3 separate regions of the Homo sapiens genome follow, and all the other regions are linked to region 3. The links are contacts of gene promoters, found by promoter capture Hi-C in blood cells and fetal thymus (Javierre and others, 2016). All regions are on one chromosome and are shown on one strand. Each heading gives the region's core, a stretch centred on a gene start or on the middle of the fragment in contact. The rest is flanking DNA. Distances are from core to core; before and after follow the strand shown.

Region 1 (2,856 bases), core at 195-2,694, 150 kb before region 3:
GCCAGCCTTCTGATCTTTTTATTTTATTTATTTTAATAGAGATAGTCTTGCTATGTTATCCAAGCTGGTCTCGAACTCCTGGACTCAAGCGCTTCTCCCACCTTGGCCTCCCAAAGTGCTGAGATTACAGGCATGAGCCACAGTGCCCGGTTGCCCTCTGATCTCTTAAAGGTGGCCAGTGGGAGCTGGGGGCGCCCATTCCCATCCGAGAAGAGATACCTGCAAGAGGAGGCAGCAGACCCTATTCTCTACCCACACTGGGGAGGGCACCACAGGCTGGGGAATCCCTAGGAAAGGTAAATGCAGCCCCACTGAGCTGAGTGTGCATCAGCCTGGTGACATGTGAGCTGGCTACAGAGCACAAGCAGAGAAAGACATTCCCAAGCTTAGGTGGGTAGATGGCAGAGAGCTGTAGGCTCTCCGAGTGGAAGCCAGTATCAGTGAGTTAGGAAGCTGGTCAGGAGGGCAGGGCATGAGGCACGGGGCCAGGTTGGCTGTGGTGGGGGCCAGGATGTGGGAGGAGATGGGCATGTTGGTCCCTGCACTGCAGTGGGAGCTGGCTGACCCTGAGAAGGACAATCCCAGAGGAGGCTGGGGGATGAGGAGGCAGCAGTGAGGGAGCAGAGGCCCTGGTGGGCAGTCAGCCCCCACCTCCATCCCTTCCAGGCATGTCCAAGGAGCATCGTCATCACAGCCCCAGCCTTGTGCCCCTCACAGGCTGCCCCCAGCAGCCCCTGAGGTCAGGAGCCCTTCTGATGACTGAGGGTAGGGAATGGTCCTCTGACTTCTGGCTGGGATACATTCTGGCCTCAGAGGCTCCTTCCTCTCCTCCAAGGAGGCGATTAAAATCCTCTGCCACTTCCTGGCTCTGTAGCTCCACCTTAGAATCCTTCTCTGAGTCACAGAAAGGGTGAACACAGAAATGCTCCCCCCATACCCCACCTCCTTTGACTTCTCGGGCTGCATTTAAAACAAGTGGTGAGATGGTGTTTGTGGAAGCTTTGGAAACTATAAAGTGGCTCTCTGGAGGTTCGTGACCATCCCTGGGATCCACTCTCAGCCTCTCCATAGATGGGCAGAGTGCACGTCTTAAATGCACACTGAATCCTGTGCTGCTTAAACCCCTTCAGTGCTCTCCCACTGCACTTAGAATAAAACCCTTGCCCCTTGCTCTGGTCCTTTCAGCCGCACAGAATGGAACCTTCTTTCAGGGAAAGCACCACACCCTCCTGTCCATTCCTCAAGGGTGCCCAGCTAAGCCCATTCTCCTCAGGCCTTCTGCCTGAACTCTCCTGCCCACCTCTTCCTGTGAGAAGCCTTTCCTGACCCCCTGATCTAAGCCAACCCCTTTGTAATTCTATTAAATTCCTTTTCGCTGTCTGTTTCTCTCTGTAGATTACCTGTCCATGAGGGCAGAGACCTCATCTATTTTATTTTTGTATCCCCAGTATTAGCACAGTGTCTAGTACAAAGTAGGACTTCACACCTATTTGTGGAATGAATGAATGAATGAATGAATCGTATTCCCAATGCACAGTGCTGGGATAATAAGAGTTATTTATTTACTGACAGCTGAGCATGTGCCAGGAACTCCTGCAAGTGCTTCACAGGCATCATTTTCACTTAATCTTTATAATCACCTAACACGGGAGGTGCCATTATTATCCCCATCTTGAGGAGGGATACTGATAAGGATAAGGGAGGAGGCAAAGTGATTTGCTGGTGGTCTTCTCAGGGTCAGAGCTGGAAGAGAGTGGTGAAGTGGGTGGTCCAGCTTCAGCACTCACCTTCCCATGCACCCCGTTATGCTGCCTGGCAACCCCAGAGTCAGGTGAGGGAGCAGCTGAGGGGGTCCAAGCAGCAATGGGTGCCTGGACCGCACAAGCTTTTTCAAACATTCCAGCCCAGGATTCCCCTATTCATTCAGCCAGGAAGCTGGAGGAGGAGGTGGTGGGGGATGGGGGCGGTAGCCCAGAGTGGTCACATATTCCAGGGTCAGAGGGCTCCCTAACTGCTTTGGCAGCCCATTCCATCTTGGAATGTCCCATCTGCCCAAACAGTCTTCTTACACTGGGCCTGAAACACTCTCCTACTTGCTTGTCCTACTTGTAGGTCTACACCCCACGGATGTCACGGAGCCAGCCCCACCCCCGCCCCCACCTCCTTTTGGAGTTATGGTCTCATGTGACTCTGTTCCAGCCCCCATCACCATCCCACCCTCTGGGTTCTCCCAAAAAAAGGCAAGGGCAGCTCTTCTGTCTCCACACCAGGCCTTCCAGACTGGCGAGATGCGGTAAGGGGTCGCGGGTATCGGGGCTTGCCGGAGGACAGCAGCAGATAGAGTCTCTGACCCGGAGCCCTGGAGGCAGCAGAACAGGGGCGCTGGGGGCAGGGAGGTCCTGACCTCTGGGCCACAGCTTAGGGCTGTGGTGTGGCCTGTCCTCTCCATCTCCGCAGCACGAACCCAGACCCAATGGACCCTTCCTCACCACACCGCTGAGGTGTCTGAGCCTCCCGCTGAAACCACATCGGGGAAGAGGGAGAAAGACCCTCGAGGCAGGGACTTGGGGGCTGAGACGGCTGTTGGTTGCCCCTGCTCTGCGGCTGGGGCTCTGTTACAGTCCCCATTCCCTTAAAGCCAGAGGGCCCCTCCCTAATTCCCTAAGGTCCTGAGGCCAACTCACCAGCTCAGTTCCTCCTCTCCCTGCCCTCCGGAGACCCATCCAGGTTCTTCAAACCCCCGGCTGAGGAAGCCACACCTCGGGAATACTCCAGTTCTCTCCTTCGGCGTCACTCCCTGTTCCTTCAGTTCCCGGGTACACACTTTGTCCCAGGCCTGAATTCCACCCCCGAGCT
Region 2 (2,743 bases), core at 186-2,685, 200 kb before region 3:
AAGATTTTTTATTTTTTATTTTTTTAGAGATGGGGTCTTGCTATGTTGCCCAGACTGGTTTTGAACTCCTAGCCTCAAATAATCCTCTCATCTTGGCCTCCCAAGTATTGGGATTACAGGTGTGAGCTATCCTGCTCGGCCCCTCTGAGATAAGCTTTAATATCCCTATTTCAAAATGAGTAAACTGAGGTTTGGAGTGGGTAAAGTGCTTCCTTCCTTCATTCATTCATTCATTCATCCATCCATCTATTCATTTATTCAACAGACATCTGAATGAGTAGCTACCCTGCATCAGGGTATGCCAACTCTGGGCATACGAAGATGATTAAGACAAAAATCCCTGTCCTCACAGTCCAGAATGAAGGACAGACACATAAAGATGAGTATAATACAAGGTGGATCATGAATTGTAGCTAATATTTATTGGGTACTTACTAAGTGCCAGTGACTGCTGTAAGCTCTTGGTGTGTTTTACTCCTTCAGTTCTCCCCAACCTCTGTTAGCTACATGTCTCATAGATTGATTCATAGATAAGACTGAAGCCTGGTGATTGTCTACGGTTTTATAAGTAGCAAGTGGCAGAGCCAGGATGAATACCCAGTGGATAGGTATTAGTGCCAGAGGTCCCACTTGGCCATCAAGCTCTACTGTCTCTGATGATAAAGTAGCAAACAGGGACCTAAGTTGGTTGGGGGGGGCGCTAACTCAGTCTGGCATTCACGGTGTTCAGGGGAGATTTCCTGAAGGACTAAGGAATTAGCTAGACAGAGGTGAGTGGGGGGGAGGGAGGGCCATCGCTGGGGAGGGCCAGACGTGGGAGCCACCTCCTGGAAATCTACACAGCATCTAGGCCAGGCAGGGACTGGAGCGTGTGAGGAAGCTGCGAAAGCAGGCAGGACCCAGCTTCCAAAGGAAAGTGGTCCGTATCCTAGAGGTAGCTGCAAGTTTGAAGGGTTTTACGTAGGGGAGAGACTTGGCCAGATTTTTAGAAAGATCACCGGGGAGCTGGGTGAAAGTGGATGGAAGGACAGAGACAAGCACTGAGGCAGTGAGTGGGGAGGAGAGAGGAGAAATTCAGGAAGAAGAGTTTTCCCCATGATGGTTATTCGGGGGTTAAGTAGAGGACAGGGAGCAGTTTTAGAGGACACCCAGCTTCTGCTCCTAATCAGGGGGATTGGGGTGATCTGATGAGGTCAGTATTGGATGTCAACCCAGTCTTCTGGCGCCCAGTCCGTGCCCTTTCGCCTCGTGGCACTGCCAGCAATAATGCCCGCGGGCCACGGGTGAACGTGAACCGAGCTCGCAGCCTCCAACCCCACCCCTCCGGCGGCGGCGACGTGCAGTGCATCACCCTGGGCACCAGGGGGCGTGCCCGCACACGCTCGGGCCGCTCTGGCCCAGCCCATCTCAGTGGTCGCGGAAGGTGACGTGGACACGGAAGTGGTCGTCGTCGCGGCACCGGTGGGAGCTAGGCGCGAGGCTCGGAGTGCGGCCAGCGGGCGGAGGCGGTCTCGCATCGGCGGCGACGGAGGGCTCAGGCGTCGTCGTTTGGGTGGGGGGCCGCTGAACTGACAAGCGACATTTCAGCTCCTTTCACCCGCCGGAACCCCGGAGCCGGGGCCCGCTCAGCCGGCGTTACCATGACCAAGGCCGGTAGCAAGGGCGGGAACCTCCGCGACAAGCTGGACGGCAACGAACTGGACCTGAGCCTCAGCGACCTGAATGAGGTCCCGGTGAAGGAGCTGGTCAGTATCGTCCCGCGAGGCCCAGGCGCCCACCTTCGCCGGGCGCTGGCCCCTACGTGGGCCACTTACTTTCCTCTTCTCTAAAAGCATCAGTTTCCTTTTCTTTAAAAAGAAGCGGGGTGGTGGGACTAAGTCCCCTAGGAGGCCGCGTCCAGCCCAAGGTTCTTCCCGGGATGTACACGTGTCACTTTGGCGCAGTTCCAGAACATAGGGAAGATCTGCTTCTCTGGCCCTAGGCTTTTTACAGGCTAAGAAGCGAATCTGTCACCTTTGCGGGGCTTTCACAGCGCCCACCTCCGTGCCCGACTCTGAGTAGGAGCACACGGAGCAGTTACTGGATGTATTCGAGAATGAATGAGTGACTTGTTCCAGGGGAGTAGGCCTCCTGGTAGACCTGGGTGTGGCCCAGAACCTGGCTCTTCTAGGAAGCTGGCAATTCCAGCTGGCTGCCCGAGCCCTGAGGCAGCCTAACTCGAAGAAAGTAAAGTCTCCCCCCAGCTTGGCTGGTAAACTGTCATCTGAATTCCGCTGAAACTGGCGGGAGTCCCTTTCGCCCCTCTCTCCCCCAACCTTTCCCCTGTAAACTGAAGCTTACAGCTCCAGAGAGATAGCAGGCATCTAGTTTTGTCAGCGTGGAGCTAGTTCCCACATCCCTCCTTTTCCCACTCCGTTCCCCCTCCCACCCGCGCCAACGCCCTACTAGACTCACTTTGGGTGACCCACACTTTGCTTTCTGCCGTTGATAAATTACATTTGCCTTGGGCGCTGGGCCCAGTCTTTCTTCCACCGTGGACGGGTATTACAGTGGTTAGAACCGGGTTCCTAGCTCCTCCCAGCTCCATTGCTTAATAGCCGAGTGCCCTTGGCAAGCTAGTTAGCCTTTATGCCTAGATCTCCTCATCTATACAATGGTGATAATAGTTTCCATCTCATACGCTTATTGGGAGGTTAAATACCATTGTAATGGAAAATGCTTGGAAGGAGCAAATACTGATACT
Region 3 (2,842 bases), core at 343-2,842:
TGGATGGTTTGGGGGAGGCGGGACTCCCCGCTTCCACGTTTGCAGCTCTGGAGCACCCGGGGTGGGGAGCTGCACAGGAGGGAGAGAAATGAACAGGGCACTGCAAGGAGACCCCCAGGCCTTCTCTCAGCCCTACAGAGTTTCTCAGGACGAGGTAGATTGGGGTTGAGGCAGAGCCTTGTTGGGGGAATGGGACATGGAGGAAGAAAGGACGTGGAGTTCTAGAGCCATCTTCCTTAGATATAGCCTGCTGTCCTTCGGGTCCCCAGACCCTTTCAGAGTGTACAGATGATTCTCTCTGGTTCCTAAGGCATAGAGCAATGACCGGGATTTTCAAGAAAGAGATGAGGCAGTGGGAAGTAGCCCCTAAAACAAAGTCAATCATCCTCTGCAGCCCATCCCACACCCCCAAAGGAAAGTTTCACCCAGACACCCAAAATATCCCATACATCCCCAACACTGAGTCCAGGTACAACTGGAGAAGGGGCTTTATGCAGCTCCCAGAAAGACACCCCTTTAGCTAAGTGCCCTCCCTCCACCCAGGTTCTCTCTGGTTTGACTGTGCTGGGAAGGAGGGTCTCTAAGCAGCCCCTGGCCACAGCCATGGCAAACAAAACTCTTCTCTAAGTCACCAATGATCACAGGCCTCCCACTAAAAATACTTCCCAACTCTGGGGTGGAAGAGTTTGGGGGATGAATTTTTAGGGGATTGCAAGCCCCAATCCCCACCTCTGTGTCCCTAGAATCCCCCACCCCTACCTTGGCTGCTCCATCACCCAACCACCAAAGCTTTCTTCTGCAGAGGCCACCTAGTCATGTTTCTCACCCTGCACCTCAGCCTCCCCACTCCATCTCTCAATCATGCCTAGGGTTTGGAGGAAGGCATTTGATTCTGTTCTGGAGCACAGCAGAAGAATTGACATCCTCAAAATTAAAACTCCCTTGCCTGCACCCCTCCCTCAGATATCTGATTCTTAATGTCTAGAAAGGAATCTGTAAATTGTTCCCCAAATATTCCTAAGCTCCATCCCCTAGCCACACCAGAAGACACCCCCAAACAGGCACATCTTTTTAATTCCCAGCTTCCTCTGTTTTGGAGAGGTCCTCAGCATGCCTCTTTATGCCCCTCCCTTAGCTCTTGCCAGGATATCAGAGGGTGACTGGGGCACAGCCAGGAGGACCCCCTCCCCAACACCCCCAACCCTTCCACCTTTGGAAGTCTCCCCACCCAGCTCCCCAGTTCCCCAGTTCCACTTCTTCTAGATTGGAGGTCCCAGGAAGAGAGCAGAGGGGCACCCCTACCCACTGGTTAGCCCACGCCATTCTGAGGACCCAGCTGCACCCCTACCACAGCACCTCTGGCCCAGGCTGGGCTGGGGGGCTGGGGAGGCAGAGCTGCGAAGAGGGGAGATGTGGGGTGGACTCCCTTCCCTCCTCCTCCCCCTCTCCATTCCAACTCCCAAATTGGGGGCCGGGCCAGGCAGCTCTGATTGGCTGGGGCACGGGCGGCCGGCTCCCCCTCTCCGAGGGGCAGGGTTCCTCCCTGCTCTCCATCAGGACAGTATAAAAGGGGCCCGGGCCAGTCGTCGGAGCAGACGGGAGTTTCTCCTCGGGGTCGGAGCAGGAGGCACGCGGAGTGTGAGGCCACGCATGAGCGGACGCTAACCCCCTCCCCAGCCACAAAGAGTCTACATGTCTAGGGTCTAGACATGTTCAGCTTTGTGGACCTCCGGCTCCTGCTCCTCTTAGCGGCCACCGCCCTCCTGACGCACGGCCAAGAGGAAGGCCAAGTCGAGGGCCAAGACGAAGACAGTAAGTCCCAAACTTTTGGGAGTGCAAGGATACTCTATATCGCGCCTTGCGCTTGGTCCCGGGGGCCGCGGCTTAAAACGAGACGTGGATGATCCGGAGACTCGGGAATGGAAGGGAGATGATGAGGGCTCTTCCTCGGCGCCCTGAGACAGGAGGGAGCTCACCCTGGGGCGAGGTTGGGGTTGAACGCGCCCCGGGAGCGGGAGGTGAGGGTGGAGCGCGGCGTGAGTTGGTGCAAGAGAGAATCCCGAGCGCGCAACCGGGGAAGTGGGGATCTGGGTGCAGAGTGAGGAAAGCACGTCGAAGATGGGATGGGGGCGCCGAGCGGGGCATTTGAAGCCCAAGATGTAGAAGCAATCAGGAAGGCCGTGGGATGATTCATAAGGAAAGATTGCCCTCTCTGCGGGCTAGAGTGTTGCTGGGGCCGTGGGGGTGCTGGGCAGCCGCGGAGGGGGTGCGGAGCGTGGGCGGGTGGAGGATGAGAAACTTTGGCGCGGACTCGGCGGGGCGGGGTCCTTGCGCCCCCTGCTGACCGATGCTGAGCACTGCGTCTCCCGGTCCAACGCTTACTGGGGCAGGAGCCGGAGCGGGAAGACCCGGGTTATTGCTGGGTGCGGACCCCCACCTCTAGATCTGGAAAGTAAAGCCAGGGATGGGGCAGCCCAAGCCTCTTAAAGAGGTAGTCGGGCCGGTGAGGTCGGCCCCGCCCCGGCCCCATTGCTTAGCGTTGCCCGACACCTAGTGGCCGTCTGGGGAGCCGCTAGCGCGGTGGGAGTGGTTAGCTAACTTCTGGACTATTTGCGGACTTTTTGGTTCTTTGGCTAAAAGTGACCTGGAGGCATTGGCTGGCTTTGGGGGACTGGGGATGGCCCCGAGAGCGGGCTTTTAAGATGTCTAGGTGCTGGAGGTTAGGGTGTCTCCTAATTTTGAGGTACATTTCAAGTCTTGGGGGGGCCTCCCTTCCAATCAGCCGCTCCCATTCTCCTAGCCCCGCCCCCGCCACCCCACCTGCCCAGGGAATGGGGGCGGG

The links. The method cuts DNA at HindIII sites, captures the fragments that hold promoters and counts their contacts. A CHiCAGO score of 5 or more calls a contact.
Region 1: a contact is called between a fragment that was not itself captured here and the fragment with the promoter of COL1A1 in region 3, in 2 of 17 cell types (M1 macrophages and megakaryocytes). The highest score is 6.0, in M1 macrophages.
Region 2: the fragment with the promoter of LRRC59 here is called in contact with the fragment with the promoter of COL1A1 in region 3 in 3 of 17 cell types (neutrophils, megakaryocytes and endothelial precursors); the score reaches 8.8 in neutrophils.

The regions. Positions count from the first base shown.
Region 1 is chr17:50,346,763-50,349,618 of GRCh38, reverse strand. All of the region lies in intron 1 of XYLT2 (xylosyltransferase 2), which reads right to left. Among named protein-coding and RNA genes, the nearest start is that of XYLT2, 2.1 kb to the right of the region's middle. RefSeq lists a silencer at 2,077-2,371. The HindIII fragment of the contact is 886 bases long and covers 1,002-1,887 here.
Region 2 is chr17:50,396,215-50,398,957 of GRCh38, reverse strand. It overlaps LRRC59 (leucine rich repeat containing 59), which reads left to right and starts at 1,435. Exons shown (of 7, transcript NM_018509.4): 1 at 1,435-1,745. The coding sequence starts at 1,641. LRRC59-AS1 (LRRC59 antisense RNA 1) reads right to left here. Exons shown (of 2, transcript NR_199069.1): 2 at 401-1,742. RefSeq lists a silencer at 1,389-1,458. The HindIII fragment of the contact is 2,181 bases long and covers 157-2,337 here.
Region 3 is chr17:50,200,381-50,203,222 of GRCh38, reverse strand. COL1A1 (collagen type I alpha 1 chain) reads left to right here and starts at 1,592. Exons shown (of 51, transcript NM_000088.4): 1 at 1,592-1,812. The coding sequence starts at 1,710. RefSeq lists a silencer at 2,328-2,377. The HindIII fragment of the contact is 2,253 bases long and covers 792-2,842 here.